Regions from separate parts of the Homo sapiens genome. Here region 2 is linked to region 1. The links are contacts of gene promoters, found by promoter capture Hi-C in blood cells and fetal thymus (Javierre and others, 2016). All regions are on one chromosome and are shown on one strand. Each heading gives the region's core, a stretch centred on a gene start or on the middle of the fragment in contact. The rest is flanking DNA. Distances are from core to core; before and after follow the strand shown. Region 1 holds the start of ELFN2 (extracellular leucine rich repeat and fibronectin type III domain containing 2). Region 2 holds the start of LOC112268295 (a long non-coding RNA gene).

Region 1 (4,267 bases), core at 1,254-3,753:
CCCCCTTCACCTCTCTAACCCCTCACCCCATGTTACAGAGGAGAGACTGAGGCTCAGAGAGGCGACGCGAATGCTTAAATCACAAAACACAGAAAGCAGCAAAATGGGATTCGAACCAATGGCCTCACGCTCCCTGGCTATGGCCATTTTCTATTGTCACATGCACTGACACACTCACTCATTAAAGCACATCCACCCAGGGGTGGTGGGCCTGGCTGGGATGAAGAGGAAAACAGGGACTGGGGAGGTCAGATAGGGGGCTGCAGCACATTGGAGGCCTCCAGGCCCACCTGGCAAAGGAGTTCAGCAGCCAATGGTGCTGATGTGAGAACCTCCTTCGGGGGTTCCAGTCCTGGAAGGTGCACTCTTCAGGGGGCAGGACTTAAGGAAAGGGGTCCCATGCCCACTCAGGATGCTGGGAAAGGCGGCCTCTTGGGAGGGACCACGCCACGCGTCCTAAGGCTCCATCCCTCTCCCCTTCCCACCCCTCATATACAAGAGACATAACCACACTCGGCCACACACACTCCCGTGACATCACATTTACACACTCTGGCTGGGGGGAGCAACCTCCGACAAAACTGTCCCAGTGACGTCACCTGCGGCCTGGAGCTTATGTCACACCTGAGGTTCTCACTGACCTCACATACATACTTTTTCCTGATGTCCCCACAATTAACACTCTTTCTTCCTGCCTAGGCGTTGATGGCCCAGAGGTACCCACCTCCCCACCCACACAGTTGCAGGGCCCCCGGCTCATCAGGACAGCACCTGCCTGTGCACCCCTCTCAGGGGACACACATGCCCACATGCTTTGCTGATGGCCCAGACGTGACACGTCCCACAGGTGTCCACGGGCCACGAGAACAGGGGTGTCAGCCATGCACATACACATACACACACACACACACACACACACACACTCCCAGTCCCATCTCATGATGCAACTTGCATATTAAAACGCCTCTCGGTAACCGCGCCGGGCAGTCCGCGCCCCACAGCTTCCACCACATTCCTCCAGGTGCTGCCAGCACCCCACTCCCTCCAGCTTTCTGACTCCGACAGCCTGGCCTGCTGATAGCGACAGCCGCAGCCCAGACACACACACACACTCCAGCCCAACACCTGCGTCTCAGCAAGGGACCAAGGCAGTGCCCTCCAGCCGCAGCTGCTGGGTGGGAGGAGTCCAGGGGGAAGGGGCACAGCACAGAGCCCTGAGCTGCAGAAAGTGCCGAGTACCACGTTCCTCCCCAGCTGAGTGCACGGTCAGCACCACTGTCCCCTTCTCGTCTCCCTCCTTGGGCACGCCTGACACACCATGGCCTGTGGCCTCTGTTTTGGACACAAGCTCCCCGAGTGTGCATGCACACGCGCGCGCGCGCACACACACACACACACATCAGCTCCCTTCCCTCCAAACATTCCGAGGAAATCCTGCCAGGCCACTGACAGTGTGCGTGTGTGCGCTTGTGTGTATACAGACAGAGAGCAGGGTCCACCCCATGTCCACACACACACGCACACACCACACACACACAGCACGCACAATCCTCTCCACATGCACACGGCGCCCCACCAGCCAACACACCCACCCCCTCCCCGTCCCCTGACAGCTGCTGGAGCCCACACACGCACGCACACACACACACTGGCACGCGCTCGCACACACACACAAACACACACACACACACACACCCGGCAGTGGCCCCGGCCCTGCCAGAGCTGCAGTGTCTGCGATTTATGCCGCCTCCCTGGGCTGCCTCCCTCCTTGTCCCTGGCCAGCGCCTCTGAAAGGGTCCCCACCCCCCAATTCTGGTCTTACCAACCCCACCGCCGTCAAGCCCCACCCTGGCCCCCCTTCCCCTAGAAGGCATCCACCCCGTCAACCCCTCTTACCAGCTAGAGGATGAATGCCTTGACCCGGCAGCACCCCGTGAAAGAGAGGGGTTAGGGCCCCCGATTCGAAAAGATGAGGGCAGAGAGGTGCAGTGTGGCACCGGCTGGCACACCGTCCACCATCGAGCCTCTGCACCACCCCCAGAAACGCTCACCTCACCGACCGTCCTCGGTGTCCTCCCACCGCCTCCGCCCACCGCCACCACCACCACCTCCCTCGCGCAGGGTGGTCCCCCGGGGGTCTCACGGGGATCCCCAGACCCAGGAGACACTGGGGGTGGCTCTCCCCGTCTCATCCCCCCTTCCGTGTCCCTCTCCAAGCCCCACCCCCACTGACGGAGGGGGTGCCCTCCGGCTCCAGCCCCGACTCCCACCGTCTCCCCGGTCGGTCGGTCGCGGCGCTCGGATCCAGAGGAATTCACTTACCCCAGCCCCAGCCGGGATCCGGGCCAAGCACCGCCTCCGGGAAGCGGCGGCCGCGGGGCCTGCGCGTGTGAGTGTGAGTGTGAATGTGAGTGTGAGCGCGGGTGTGGGTGCGGGGTGCGTGGCCGTGGGGTGGCCCGCGTGTGTCTGTGTGTGTGTCTGGGAGCGCGCGTGTGCGCGCAGACGCCGCCGCCCCCTCCTCCCCGCCGCCGCGCCTCTGCCCCTGCCTCGGCGGGGAGGGCGCCCGGGAGGGGCCAAGCGGCGCGCGTCAGGGACCGCGGCAGGCTGTGTCCGTCTGTCCGTCCCCGTCTGTCCGTCCGCCAGCCCGCCCGCTCCCGGTGCCCTCCGCAGGCCTTTCCGCAGCAAGCCCGCTCCCGCCCCCGAGCCGGCCGCACGCTCCACGGACACACGCGCGCTCGCAGACACACGCCCGCGGGGCTGGGGCCGCGCCTGGCGCCGCCGCTGCAGCTGCAGCGCCCGGGGAGGCGAAGGCGGCCCCACGGACCCGAGCCCCGGCCTGGCGGACCCCTGTCCCGGCCGCGGCCCCCTGCGCTGCTCACCCCGCGGGATCCGGGTCCGGGTCCGGGTCCGGCCTCCGCCAGCGCATTCAACAGCTGGGGGCAAACTTGCGGCGGGGCCGCCCGAAGTGCGCCTGGACTCGCCCTCCCCCTGGACTCCGCCTCCGCTGATGGGCCCCCTCTCCGCCTTGTACCTCCATGCCCTGCCGCCTGCGCCCTGCTGGTTGGTCCCGCGTTCAACCGCTGGCGACTGGGGAAGTGCGGCTGCTGCGTTCCCATTTTACAGGCCAGACAACTGAGGTTCGGAGAGGAGTGATTCCCCCAAGGTTACACAGGGAGCCTACAGACAGTATTAGACTTTACGCTCCCCTACCTTGTGCCAGGGCACTCACTGCCTTTCCCCACCCCTCCAGGAGTAGGTCCAAGGGATACTGGGCTCATCTGTAGCTAGAGAACCTTCATTAGCCTTCCAGAGGCCCAGTTCCCCGCCCCTTACGCCAAAGCCCCTGCCACCTGCTGCCACCTGCAAAGGGGTGGATGCTGGGAGGAGGAGGAGGAGGTGGAAGATGCAAGAAGCCTGGCACCCGGGGCCTATAACTTGGTGCTTGGGCATGCAAGCACCTCCTCCCGAGGCCCTGCGAGCTGCATGTCGGAGGCCTGCTGCCAGCAGGCCCTGTACTTCTCCATCACTTTTATAGGACCGCATGCACCAGCGCCTGTTCTCAGGTGTTGCACAGCAGATGAAGTCCAGGCTGCGGGAACTCCCCGTCGGGACATCTCATGCAGGTCTGGAATAAGGAGACTCCCCAGAAGAAGCCACTGCCTGAGCTGAATCTTGATGGATGAGTAGGAGTTGGCCAGCTAAAGAAGGAGGAGAAGGGTGTCCTGGACTCTGGGAACAGCATGTGCAAAGAGGCACAGAGGCATGAAACAGCTTTGTATGTGTGTACAGGGAACTCCACGGAGTTGGGTATTAGTAGAGCAGAAAGAACGTCTGTCCAGAAATTCCTCCCTCCTTTCAACTAAGAACAGGGAACGGCCCAGGATGGGGCTGGGAGGGCAGACAAGCACTGGGTCACAGGCCACTTGTTGTCCTGGGGTATGCAGAAGGACTATTGGGCGTTCCCCACCTGCACCCCAGGCTGCCTGGCACACTCCTACCCATCCTTCAAGGTCCCTCGCTGCAAACCCAAACAAGCCATGTGCTGTCTCTGCCCTCTAAACTGAGCCCTCCTACAGGGCAGGGGCGGTATCCAACACATGGTGTGTATCCCTGACAAGGCTGGGCAAGAAGCAGGGTCCCAGCTCCAAGACCTTGCTGGAAGAGCCCCTCAGGCGGAACATAACGGCCTCTGCGCCCTCTGGCGGATCCCTCGAGAAATTAGAGTGCTCCCCAAGCCAACAGCCCCCCTGTGGCTCTCAGGCCCAGA
Region 2 (4,267 bases), core at 1,161-3,660, 400 kb before region 1:
CACAGCCTGCCACGTGGCACTAGGGGCCTACCTCTGCGGCAAGCCAGACGTGCCCATCTACGATGGCTCCTGGGTGGAGTGGTACATGCGCGCCCGGCCCGAGGATGTCATCTCAGAGGGCCGGGGGAAGACCCACTGAAGCTGGGCAGGACACAGGCGAGCTCAGGTGATGCCGGCCACCAGCAATGCCTGGCCTGGTAGCTCCGCTTCTGCTTTCACCAAGAGAGTGTTTCTTCACTCAACTCAGGTGGCATTTGGGGTGACATCTCAAAGGCCAGGAATTCCGTTGACTTGTTGGCTGCCAGTAGGGGCGGGAGGAAAGGCGGAGGCGAGCCCTGGAGGAGGGAGGCCACAACTCCGAGCTGCCCACCTGGTGCTGAGCTGGGGCCCCGCCTCCTTTCTGTTTTATTTTTGAGGAAATAAAATAACCAAGTGCTAAATCTTGTAGCTCTGGGGCTGCCTCGGTTTTCCTAAGGAGCCAGGGGTTCTGTCATGCCCAGCAAAGGTCACTCTGGGGAGCCTGAGGGTCTTGGAGATCCTGTCTCTGCCTTCCAAGCAGTGCTGGGGCCCCAGAGCTCCCCACTTCTGTGACTGAGCTAGCCCCTAGCAAGCTGTCCCTCACCCCATAATCCTGGGCGTTCTCCCTTCTGGCATCTGGGCTATTTAAGGTGAATTTTGCTGTGACATGTCTGTGGTCCCACCCAAAGCTACTCTCCCACCACCTGCCCTTCTAGCAGGTAAATAGTACATCTCATTTCCAGAAGAAGATGGGGCCAGAGCTTAACAGAAGCCTGTGCCATGCCAAGGAGGAATGTCCCAGCCCAGCTGGGATGTTCTAGGGAAGGGCTAAGCTGAGCTGAATTGGAGGAGAACCTGGCTCTAAACTCTGGAAGCTCACACTTGGGGGCTGGTCTGTGGAATTCCCGGAGTGGGTGGACCCAGGGAGTTTGATTCTTTCTGCTCAAAGAGAACATCTCTCCCCATTTCCCAAGGGTAGGGGTTCCATCCTCCTTGCCCGGGATTTATCCTTTGTGCAGAGGTGGACGTAGGTGTCTGAGAAGGCCCCAAACTCCCCCCTGCCCATCACGACCTGGATTGCCCCTCCCCGTCTTTCCAGCCCTCAGGCACCATCTCAGCAGCGCAGGGGCAGTGTCCTGCCAGGCGGTACTGGGGAGAGCTCGAAGTTATCTTATTGGCCCTTCCTTTGGAAACGAGACCAGAGAGGGGCAGTGACTTACCAAGGCCACACTGAATTTATGAAGAGCCAGGGCCAGATCCAGATTCCCTGACTCAGTTTATTCCTCTTTTCACCTGACTGTATCCCCTCAACTTCCCCCTGATGCTGAGTCATTTCCCAAGTCCGCAGGGACGGGAGAAATCGACACAGCCTAGAATCTTGGTTTTCCAAGTAAGAGCTCTAAAGTAACTCCCAACCTCTCGGAGCCTCAGTTTCCTCCCCTAAAACATGGGAATCGTGTACTTCCGAAGAAGAAACTCAGATGAGAGCCCTTCCAAGAGTCCACTGCAGAGTCCCCGTTTTCCACACCGGGGGTTCTCAGCCTCAGTGCTGCTGACATTTACACTGAATGATTCCTTGTCATGGGGGCCGTCCTGTGTGCTGGGGGATGCTTGGCCGCGTTTCTGGCCTCTGCCCACTAGATGCCAGTAACACTGCCCAGTTATGACAACTGAAAGTCTCCAGATGTGGCCGGATGTCCCCTGGGGGGCAAAAATCACCCCCAGTCAAGAACCACTGCCCTAGGGGCAAATAACACAATTGACCACTGCAGTCAGGAACAGTGTAGACAGGGAACCCCAACATGGAGGGGCTCCCCGACTCCCCATCATAAGCACCTTCTCCCAGAAGTGGAAGTGAGGCAGTTTAGACACTCCCCCCTTTCTGGCCGGTCTCAGACAAGCTTTAGTTTTCCTTCCTGGAATGGCTCTGCCACTTTGAGGAGACAAGTTTGTCTGCAAACATGTGAGGTTCTGATCCAGCTTCCAGTCCCAACCACTCCACACAAGGCAGCCTGACCTCGAACATGCTGCCCAGCCTCTGCAGGCTTCCGTTTCTTTTTTCCCCCCCACCCCGAGATAAGAGTCTTGCTCTGTTGCGCGGGCTGGAGTGCAATGGCACGATCTCGGCTCCCTGAAACCTCTGCCTCGCGGGTTCAAGCGATTCTCCTACCTCAGCCTCCTGAGTAGCTGGGATTACAGGCACTCACCATCACGCCCGGCTAATTTTTGTATTTTTAGTAGAGACAGGGTTTCACCATGTTGGCCAGGCTGGTCTCAAACTCCTGCCCTCGTGATCCACCTTCCTCGGCCTCCCAAAGTGTTGGGATTACAGGCGTGAGCCACAGCGCCCAGACCCGTTTCTTCACCTGTAAAACGGGCAAAATAGTACCTTCCTGGCCAGCACGGTGGCTCACGCCTGTAACCTCAACACTTTGGGAGGCATAGGTGGGAGGATCACTTGAACTCAGGAGTTCAAGACCAGCCTGGACAACATAGTGAGACCTCATCTGTAGGCAAAAATAAGAAAAAAGATGAGCCGGGCAGAGTGGCATGTGCCTGTAGTCACAGCTACTTGGGAGGCTGAAGTGCAAAGATCGCTTGAGCCTGGGAGGTCAAGGCTGCAGTGAGCTGTGATGACACCACCGCACTCCAGCCTGGGAAACAGAGCAAGATCGTATCTCAAAAAAAGAAGTACCTTCCTGAGCAGTATGAGGATTACATGAGATAATCCACAGAAACTGTTTTGCTTGGTGCAGAGTAAACACCAAGGGTTTCTTCCCATTAGTTTTAAAGGAGTTTTACTTATTCAGCATGTTAAGTGCCTTCTGCACTTCCGGCATTGGAGGAGAGAGAGTGACAAATAGAATTGTGTCCCAGCCCTCTCAAAGCTTCCAAACTAGGGAGGAGAAACTAGTCTTTTAGAGTACATTTCCAGAGAGAAGGGGGTGCTGTGAAATGATCTATTTCACAACAGACTAATTTTACAGGTGGGAAAACAAGCTCAGAGAGGTTCAGTGATTTGCCTCAGGGCACACAGCTAGTTTGCTAGAGGAACCTAACTGGAGTTAGAATTCTCCAGGGGAGGAGTTTCTCCAGCGGATCTTGCCTGCCATGGTTTTCCAGATTCCAGGATCAAGGTGAGAACAGAAACGCATGAGAAGCTCAGGGAAGATGGCCACGTGTTTCTCAGCTCCACAGGGAAACCTTGAGCAGTGGAATTTAACCAATGGGTTTGGGTTAGGCGCCCTTCCCCTACCCTAGTCCAACCTGCAGCAAGGAAACCAAGGCTGATTCCAGCCCGGGCTTTTTTCTCCTGGGAAGGTCCTCCTTGGGTCTGGACAGGCTCGGAGGTGACCTGCCTAGAGGTGGGCGATCTAGCCGCACCTTTCTAGGACTACAGAGCTTCAGTTTAACTTTGCAGGAGTTTGTTAGGAATGAACTAGACACGCACCCTCCGCCCAGCTCCGTCCCGCCTCCTGCAAGCCTGAACTCTTAGAATAATTAACCACTGACTGCAGGATCCTGGCCTCTGCCAGGGCCCGCCCTACCCAACCTGTGTGTTCGAGGCAGGAACTTGCAACACTGAGCAACAAGAATGATGAAATTTTTATCCACTTGGCAAATATTTGCTCGGCGCCCCCTCTGTGTCAGGAACAGTTGGAAATGCGTTTCCCAACCTTGCCTAACCAGCTGCCCTGGAATGTTTTCCACTTCCTGGGTCATTGCCTCCAGAGATCAAAGCCCCCATCCACACAGTGGGCTGAATATGGATCCATGCAGCGATCTGGTCCTGGTGCTGTGGAATCAGCTTTGCACAAGGCCCCAGAAGGTCTGCGTTCCAGAGCCTTCCTGTTGGGGCCTCAGTCTTCTCATCTGAAAAATGGGAGCAAACTCAGTTCTGCCATGCCCAGTGTGGGTGTGATGTCACATCAGGTAAGGCTCAAAATGAAGTCAGGTGTCACACCTACTGGAATAACCTCAGCTCTATAAGCACAATGGAGCTTTATTATCCTTAACTCATGGAGGATGAATCACTTGGGGGAAGATGAAATGTTGAAATATTCAGGTTAACGGAAAGTGTTATTTTAAGCACCTAAATTTTTTGCCTATTAACCTACTAGGGGTGGAACTTGGTAGGCTGATCTTGCCTGAACTTCTGGGGGCTTTGTTTGATCCCTTGATTGCACAGCGATACCTGCAGGGGCTCCTTGCCCCTCAACTGTCAGGATGTTGAGGTCTTCAGGTCCTC

The links. The method cuts DNA at HindIII sites, captures the fragments that hold promoters and counts their contacts. A CHiCAGO score of 5 or more calls a contact.
Region 2: a fragment that was not itself captured here is called in contact with the fragment with the promoter of ELFN2 in region 1 in 1 of 17 cell types (total CD8 T cells); the score reaches 7.2 in total CD8 T cells.

What each region holds. Positions count from the first base shown.
Region 1 is chr22:37,424,976-37,429,242 of GRCh38, forward strand. It overlaps ELFN2 (extracellular leucine rich repeat and fibronectin type III domain containing 2), which reads right to left and starts at 2,504. Exons shown (of 3, transcript NM_052906.5): 1 at 2,323-2,504. The HindIII fragment of the contact is 18,273 bases long and covers 1-4,267 here.
Region 2 is chr22:37,029,376-37,033,642 of GRCh38, forward strand. It overlaps LOC112268295 (a long non-coding RNA gene), which reads left to right and starts at 2,674. Exons shown (of 2, transcript XR_002958751.1): 1 at 2,674-3,951. MPST (mercaptopyruvate sulfurtransferase) reads left to right here. Exons shown (of 3, transcript NM_021126.8): 3 at 1-440. The coding sequence ends at 139. RefSeq lists enhancers at 3,429-3,946, 4,039-4,267. The HindIII fragment of the contact is 987 bases long and covers 1,918-2,904 here.